Linked DNA regions of Homo sapiens: region 2 is linked to region 1. Evidence: promoter capture Hi-C in 16 types of primary human blood cells and fetal thymus (Javierre and others, 2016). All regions are on one chromosome and are shown on one strand. Each heading gives the region's core, a stretch centred on a gene start or on the middle of the fragment in contact. The rest is flanking DNA. Distances are from core to core; before and after follow the strand shown.

Region 1 (3,572 bases), core at 398-2,897:
TCAGGAGAGAAGGCCTAGATAAGTCACTGGCTTCAGAAAACAAGCCACTGCCAAAAAAGCAAAAACAAGGTAGGTCATGACAACCAGAGGCTAGGCTGAGGAGGTGAGGGGAATTGATGTGGCTTTGGTAGGAGGCGGCAGCAGCTGTAAGGGTTCTTCATTCCTCAGGCTGAGGGAAAACACAAGCTGCAGTTCTAAACATAATGAATGACTACATTAAAAGTATTCATTCAAGTAAGATATTGAGCAAAGAAAATTTTAGAGTAAAAATGGGCTTTGCGGGTTCCACCAAAACCAAAAGATTCCTCCTGATGTCTTAGATTCCAGTCCTCCCAACGAAGGCTACATGAAAGTGCTACCATATTTCCTCAAAGAATTTTACATGCATACATATATAGCTTCCTAATTGACCTTGGCCAATTTCACTCCTATAGCGCCTCAAATCCCTTTGAGAACTAAGGGCTCGATGAGTGTAATCTCCCGGTGTCTGGGTTCTTCAATCACAAGCTTCCCCCCAACCAGTAAAAGCCCACCCTGGGTTCTACAAAGCCCACAATTCCCGACCCTCCAACAACTAAAAATAACCAGCAATCAGCTCTCCCAAATTGTTTAACCCCTGACTACCTAGTGCCATCATAAACCTGGGACAGCCCCCACCCCCACCTCACTCCCCCATTCCCTGGGCCCCTTCCTGTGGACAAGCAAAGCAATTTCCCCCTTATTTCCCCATTTTCCTCATTGCCTCCTCCACTAATCGTGTCTCCTCGGGATCCCCTTCGCACCATCTATCAGTCTTAGATGATCAAATGCGGATTCCTGTCTCTGTCTTAAGGCACCAGGATCCTGGGACCTCCCAGCGCCCTGCAGACGTGCACATTCCCAGTCCGTGCCCCAGCCGTCCTGGGTCCCCTTACAAGCCCGGGTCTGCCACTTCACCCTTGTTTTTCCCCATCCTCCGGGTCCACATTTCATATGCCCCTGCCCTCATTCCCTTATGATTCCCTAGCTGCTGGTTCCAGAGTCTTCTGGGCTTACAGTCTCCCGGCCCTCGGGGAGTTCCGACCCCTTCTTTCCAATCATCCCCTTTACCCGCCTGCCCTCAGCCCCGAGGACCCCTCCCCGCGCCCGGCTCCTGGGCGCCGGTGCTCTGTGCCCTCGGCCCCCTGCTTGGAGTTCCGCCGTCTCGAGTCCCAGGTGTCCCTAGCTCCGCGCCCGCCCCGCCGCGGCTGGCTCCCTCCCGCCTCCCGGCCCCCAACGCTCCCACCACGCGCCGCGCTCGCCGCCCCGACCCCCCGGCTGGGGGGCGCGGACCTCTCCCGGCCCCGCCACGCTCCGACTGCCGCCTGGCCCCTGCGCCGGTACCTTGGCCTTGGTGACGAGGTGCGTGGCCCGCTTGACCACCGCGAAGTTGCCCTTGCCGATGGTGCGGTCGATCTCGTAGTAGCCGATACGGGCGGGCATGGGTCCGCGGGAGGCCGGGGCTGGGGGACGCGGCTGGCCGGCCGCAGGGGACACGGCAGCGGGGGCGGCTGGGGACCCCGGCGCGGGCGGAGGCAGCAGGCGGCCCGCGGGCCCGGCTCCCCCAGTCCCGGCCCCGGCAGCCCCGCCAGCTCCGCTCGCCGCCGCCGCCGCCATCTTGTTGTGCAGTGAAACCTCCGGGGCCGCGGGGAGCCGGCTCGGGGGAGGGGGCAAGGGGGGGCGGGAAAGGGGGGGCCGCGGACGTCACTCGGGGAGGCGGGGCGCTTTCGCCGACCGGCGCCCGGCTCCATGGCAACCGCGGGTCACGTGCCGACGCGCGTCACTGCCCGGAGCCATGGCAACCGTGACCTCACCGGCGGGCTCGACCTTCCCGCGTGGGCCCCGGTTCCTGAGGCGCTGGCTCCCGGGTGCCCCCCTCCGGGAGCTGGCGGTGGGAACCTTCGATGGGCCCCCAACCTCGAAGTCTCCGCCACCTTTCCCGAGTGGGGGGCGCAGGATGCCCGACCCAAAGCCAACCCCCCACCGCCGCTCGAATCGCCAATGTGACCTCTGCTGTGACCTCTGTCCCAGTTCAACGATCACCCAACCTCCCTTAACAAAAAAAAAGTGTTTCCTCATCACCAAAAATACCAGCGTTGTCCCACTTTAGCCCTTGAGGCCACAAATGCAGGAATAGCTACACTCTTGAAGCAACTGTAACCAAGTTGGTAACAACGCAGGGGAATTCTTCGGTAAAATTCCTTCCTCTTACAAAATCCAGCTCACCCTGCACAGTCAACCTAATTGTCACCGAATATAGGAGAATGGGGAAACTAGGATTTGCGTGTTCAAGGGCGGACAAGCCAGTCCAAACAGGCATTCCAGTCATTGGGTGGGTGACAGCCAAAGAAGGTACGTCATTTTCCTTCCTACCACCCCCATCTCTGAACAATTCTACAGGGATGTCTGTCAGAGTGCCTACATACTATTTCTGTTGCTTGTATAACCCTGATGAAGCAGTGGTGCGCATTGTCCAATGAACCACGTCGTGTTTAAACAACAGTCGGTTAAGCAAAATAAATAAGTAAATAATAAAAATTCCATCCTTCCTAGTGACTCTCCGAGGACATTGAGGGTCATCAAGTTAATAACTCCAGCAATTTCATATCTCTTTTTCTTCCCTTGCCTATTACCTGCATCCTTCATAGCTCCCAGGCTTCCTCCTCCTCTCTCCCCTTCCCTTTATTAAATAGATTAACTTAGCTGCTTTAGGTGAGGGTTGCAGGTAGGAAATCAGACTGTCAACAAAATAGTCTTTGGCAGGCTGGGTGGAAAGGAGGGAAGATTGTGAATATTCCAATGTTAAAATGTATTCCTTTGGACTAGTCCTGATCCATCCATATCTATGTCTCTCTCAATGGTAGAACTGTATTGTGAGGTCACTGCATGCACAGTATTAAAAACTGACACCCAGGGCACTGTAAATGTGTGGAAGGATAACTCGTGTTTACTCGCTGACCAAAGAACACCTCCTGGTGCTCCAATTCCCTATCCAACCATGAGTAATGGCTGGGACTTAAGATGGGACAGAGGGGTCATCCCACAATGGTCTTGGATCTATTCCCTGGTAGCTGTTCCAAACTGCCAACACAATTAACACTAATTGGCTCCCTTATTAGCAACTAAAGATAAGAATGAAGTGGGCCTTGGCTTCTTGCATTGGTTAAGCCCTTTCATCAGCTGAGCTCATTCCATCCCAGATAAATGATGGGGTGTGACCTGCCTCTCCTATCACTTCATGGCTCTCAGCTGCCTCTAGCAGGGACTATAACTTTGGTGCTGGGCTTCACAGCTGCAGTTTTTGGGTTTTTGTTTTTTTTTTTAGACAGAGTCTCACTCTGTCACCCAGGCTGGAGTGCAGTGGTGCAATCTCAGCTCACCACAACCTCCACCTCCCAGGTTCAAGCCATTCTCCTGCCTCAGCCTCCCGAGTAGCTGAGACTACAGGCGCACACCACCATGCCCGGCTAATTTTGTATTTTTAGTAGAGACGGGGTTTCGATATGTTGGCCAGACTGGTCTCGAACTCCTGACCTCGTGATCCCCCCGCCTCA
Region 2 (3,572 bases), core at 634-3,133, 69 kb before region 1:
TCCTGACCTCAGGTGATCCACCTGCCTCAGCCTCCAAAAGTGCTGGGATTACAGACGTGAGCCACTGTGCCCGGCCCAGGGAAGGCTGTTTTCTAAAACTGACTCCCCCTGACCCATCTTCAGCGTCTGAGCAAGTGATGAGACAATGGGACAATAAAGCAATGGGTCAACAATGGCAACCAAATTATAGCAAAACCAAGTAAATTGATCTTGTAATTGATGAGTACGTCTACCCAAAGTTTTAAGTAATTCTCCTCTCACTTCGTTCAAGACAATGCATTATGCATGTGCAGCCTACATATAGAAGATGCTTTTTATTACTGTTAACAATATTAACTAAAATTTGCAGAATATTTATTTTAAAAGCACTTTTATTATTACTACTACTACTGTTAATAGTATTACTACTACTACTACCACCTCCCTTTTGCAAAAGAACTAAAGATCAGAGGAGGGAAACAACCTGCTTAAAATTATATCAACACTAAGAAATGACGGTAGGACTCAAACTCAATTCCTATGACTCCAAAATCTGTGACTTTTTTCTTAAAGTTAAACCCTTTTTTCATTTTTCAGCATGAAACCCTTCATTCATTCACTCATATCTTCATCTACTCAAGAAATATTTATTAAACACCTACTACATGCCAGATGCTAATCTCAAGCCCTCAGGAAACAATTAAGAGTACACAGTTCCTGCTCTAGGCGGTAGAAAGCATGTGTTACAATCTAGTATAATAGGGACAGCTTAACAACAACAACAAAAGTACACCAATGTAGGAGGTGGCAGAAAGAAGTAGGTACATGGCACAGTGGGAACACAGACAAGGAAGCCCTTAACAATTCCTATAGAGGGCTTGCTTTCCATAGGAGGTTATGATGTTACCTGAATCTTAGGATGTGAAAGAAATCTGGCAAATGGATAGAAGAAAGAAGCATGTCAAGGAAAAAAAAAACATGAGCAAAAGCATAAAGGCCTGAAAAACAATTCTAATATGTTGAGGAAACTAGCTCAGCATGACTGGGAGCCATATCAGGCATGGCCAGGGATAAATCATGAAAGTAGCCTGGAGGAAGGAAATCAAGACCAGGCTCATGGGTGCCATGCTACAGAGAACAGGCTTTATTTTACAGGAGACAGAAGACAGTGACGGTGAGAAACATGCTGACATGCATGCATTAAAATGACAAACTGGGCCAGGCATGGTGGCTCATACCTGTAATCCCAGCATTTTGTATATTTTGTTTTTGAGATTGAATCTTGCTTTGTCACAGTGGTGTGATCTCGGCTCTCTGCAACTTCCACCTCCTGGGTTCAAGTGATTTTCCCGCCTCAGCCTCCCGAGTAGCTGAAATTACAGGCACCCGCCACTACGCCCGGCTAATTTTGGTATTTTTAGTGGAGACAAGGTTTCACCATGCTGGCCAGGCTGGTCTCGAACTCTTGACCTCAAGTGATCCGCCAACCTCGGTCTCCCAAAGTGCTGGGATTACAGGTGTGACCCACTGTGCCCAGCCTATCCCAGCACTTTGGAAGGCAGATGCAGGTGGATCACTTGAGCTCAGGAGTTTGAGACTAGCCTGGGCAACATGGTGAAACCCTGGATCTACAAAAAATTAGCTGGGCATGGTGGCAAGCACCTATAGTCCCAGCTACTTAGGAGGCTGAGGTGGAAGGATGAATTGAACCCAGGAGGCAGAGGCTGCAGTGAGCCAAGATTGCACCACTGCACTCTAGCCTGAGCAACAGAGCCAGACCCTGTCTCAAAAATAAAATTAAAAATTAAAAGACAAAATGGTTTTAATGTGAAGGATGAAACTGAGGGATGGAACTAGGTCAGAAATGGGCGTATCAGTTAAGACACCAATGCAGCAGTACAAAAAATATGAGGGCCTAAATTAAGGCAGTGGAAAGGGGAGGTAACAAATTAGAGAGCTATTTTGGAAGCAGAATCTTAAAATGTAATGATTGACCAGTGGTACACAAAATTCAAGGAGAAATCTAGGCTAACTCCCAAACTTCTGGCTTCTACCACTGGATGGGTCATACTGCCATCAGTGGAGATGAAGTTAGTGTGGTTGGATAATGAGTTCAGTTTTGGATAAGGGAGTTACATTTGTGATGGCTATGTAGCATAAGGTAAAAATATCTAGTATGGTGTTAGAACTGGTTCCCAAAACTCAGCAGAGATATGGGATTTAGGAGTCATTATGATGTAAACTGTAGTTGAAGGCAAGGGGCTGGTTCTGATTAGCTCAAAGAAGAATATACATAGAGAGAAGAGGGAGAGCACAGAACCTAAGGAAACCCAGATATCTAAGGAGTAAAGAGAAACAATTTTGGAAAGCTGAGAACAGAGTTGTAGGAGGAGAGCCAAGAAAAAGTGTTTGGAAACCTTGAGTGAAGGTGAGTAACATGAACATTTATTTTCCTAGAGAAAGGAGAAATGTAAGAATATAAAAGGGGCATAAATCGAAACTATATTTCTGCAAAGTATTTTGGCAATGTATAGTTAACAAAGGCCTCTAAGATGCCCACGTCGTGACACAGTAATTCTACCTCTAAGAATGTATTGTAAGGAAGGAATCAGAAATCCTGACAGAAGTTTACATACAAAAATGTTTCTCACAGCATTATTTGCAATAGCAACAAAATGGAACTACTTTAAACATATGAAAGGAATGGTTAAATAAATTACTGTACATCCATACAACAAAGATTATGAGCCATTTAAAATCTATATTCATGGATAATTTTAAGTGATAAAAATACTCATGATATTGAGTATTGTGAAAAAAGCAAGACACAACTGCATATTCAGTTAACTATATAATATAAAAATGCAGAGGGCAAAAAAATGTATAAAATACAACAAAATGTTACTGGAAGTTATATACAGTTATTGAGATCACATGTGGTTTTTTTCTGCTTTAGCCTTTTTTCCTGCATTTACTGAATTTAATGATATTATTTTTTCCTTTAAAACAATTTGTTTTAAGACACAGTCTCATTCCCGTTGCCCAGGCTGGTGTGCAGTGGCAGGACTACAGCTCACTGCAGCCTCGACTTTCCAGGCTCAGGTGATCCTCCCACCTCAACCTCGCAAAGTACTAGGATTACAGGTGTGTGCCAGTGCACCCAGGCTTTTTAAAAATTAAACTCTATTTTGAGATATCTCACTGTGGTTTTAATTTGCAGTTCCCTAACGGCTAATGATGTTGAACATCTCTTCATGGGGTTACATGCCATCTGTATATCCTCTTCAGTGAAATGTTCCTTAACATCTTTTGCTGTTTTCTAATTGGATTACTTGGGGTTTTTTAATACTGAGTTTGGAGTTATTTATATATTCTAGACAGTAGTCTTTATTGGATATGTGGTTCAAAAATATTTTCTCCCAGTCTGTAGTTTGCCTTTTCAGCCTTTTAACATGGTCTTTAGCAGACCAAAATGTTTTAGTTCTTATGAAGTCCAACTTACCAATTTTTCCTTTTCTAGATCATACTTTTGGTGTCAAGTCTCAGAACTCTTTGCCTAGCTCTATATCCTAAACATTTTCTCCTGTTATTTT

Evidence for each region. The method cuts DNA at HindIII sites, captures the fragments that hold promoters and counts their contacts. A CHiCAGO score of 5 or more calls a contact.
Region 2: a contact is called between a fragment that was not itself captured here and the fragment with the promoter of SIK3 in region 1, in 9 of 17 cell types (activated CD4 T cells, total CD8 T cells, naive CD8 T cells and 6 more). The highest score is 9.8, in activated CD4 T cells.

The regions. Positions count from the first base shown.
Region 1 is chr11:117,096,781-117,100,352 of GRCh38, forward strand. It overlaps SIK3 (SIK family kinase 3), which reads right to left and starts at 1,648. Exons shown (of 25, transcript NM_001366686.3): 1 at 1,363-1,648. The coding sequence starts at 1,635. RefSeq lists an enhancer at 156-205 and silencers at 1,527-1,576, 1,657-1,836. The HindIII fragment of the contact is 6,059 bases long and covers 506-3,572 here.
Region 2 is chr11:117,027,691-117,031,262 of GRCh38, forward strand. The region is part of intron 1 of SIK3 (SIK family kinase 3); the gene reads right to left. Among named protein-coding and RNA genes, the nearest start is that of SIK3, 69 kb to the right of the region's middle. The HindIII fragment of the contact is 9,274 bases long and covers 1-3,572 here.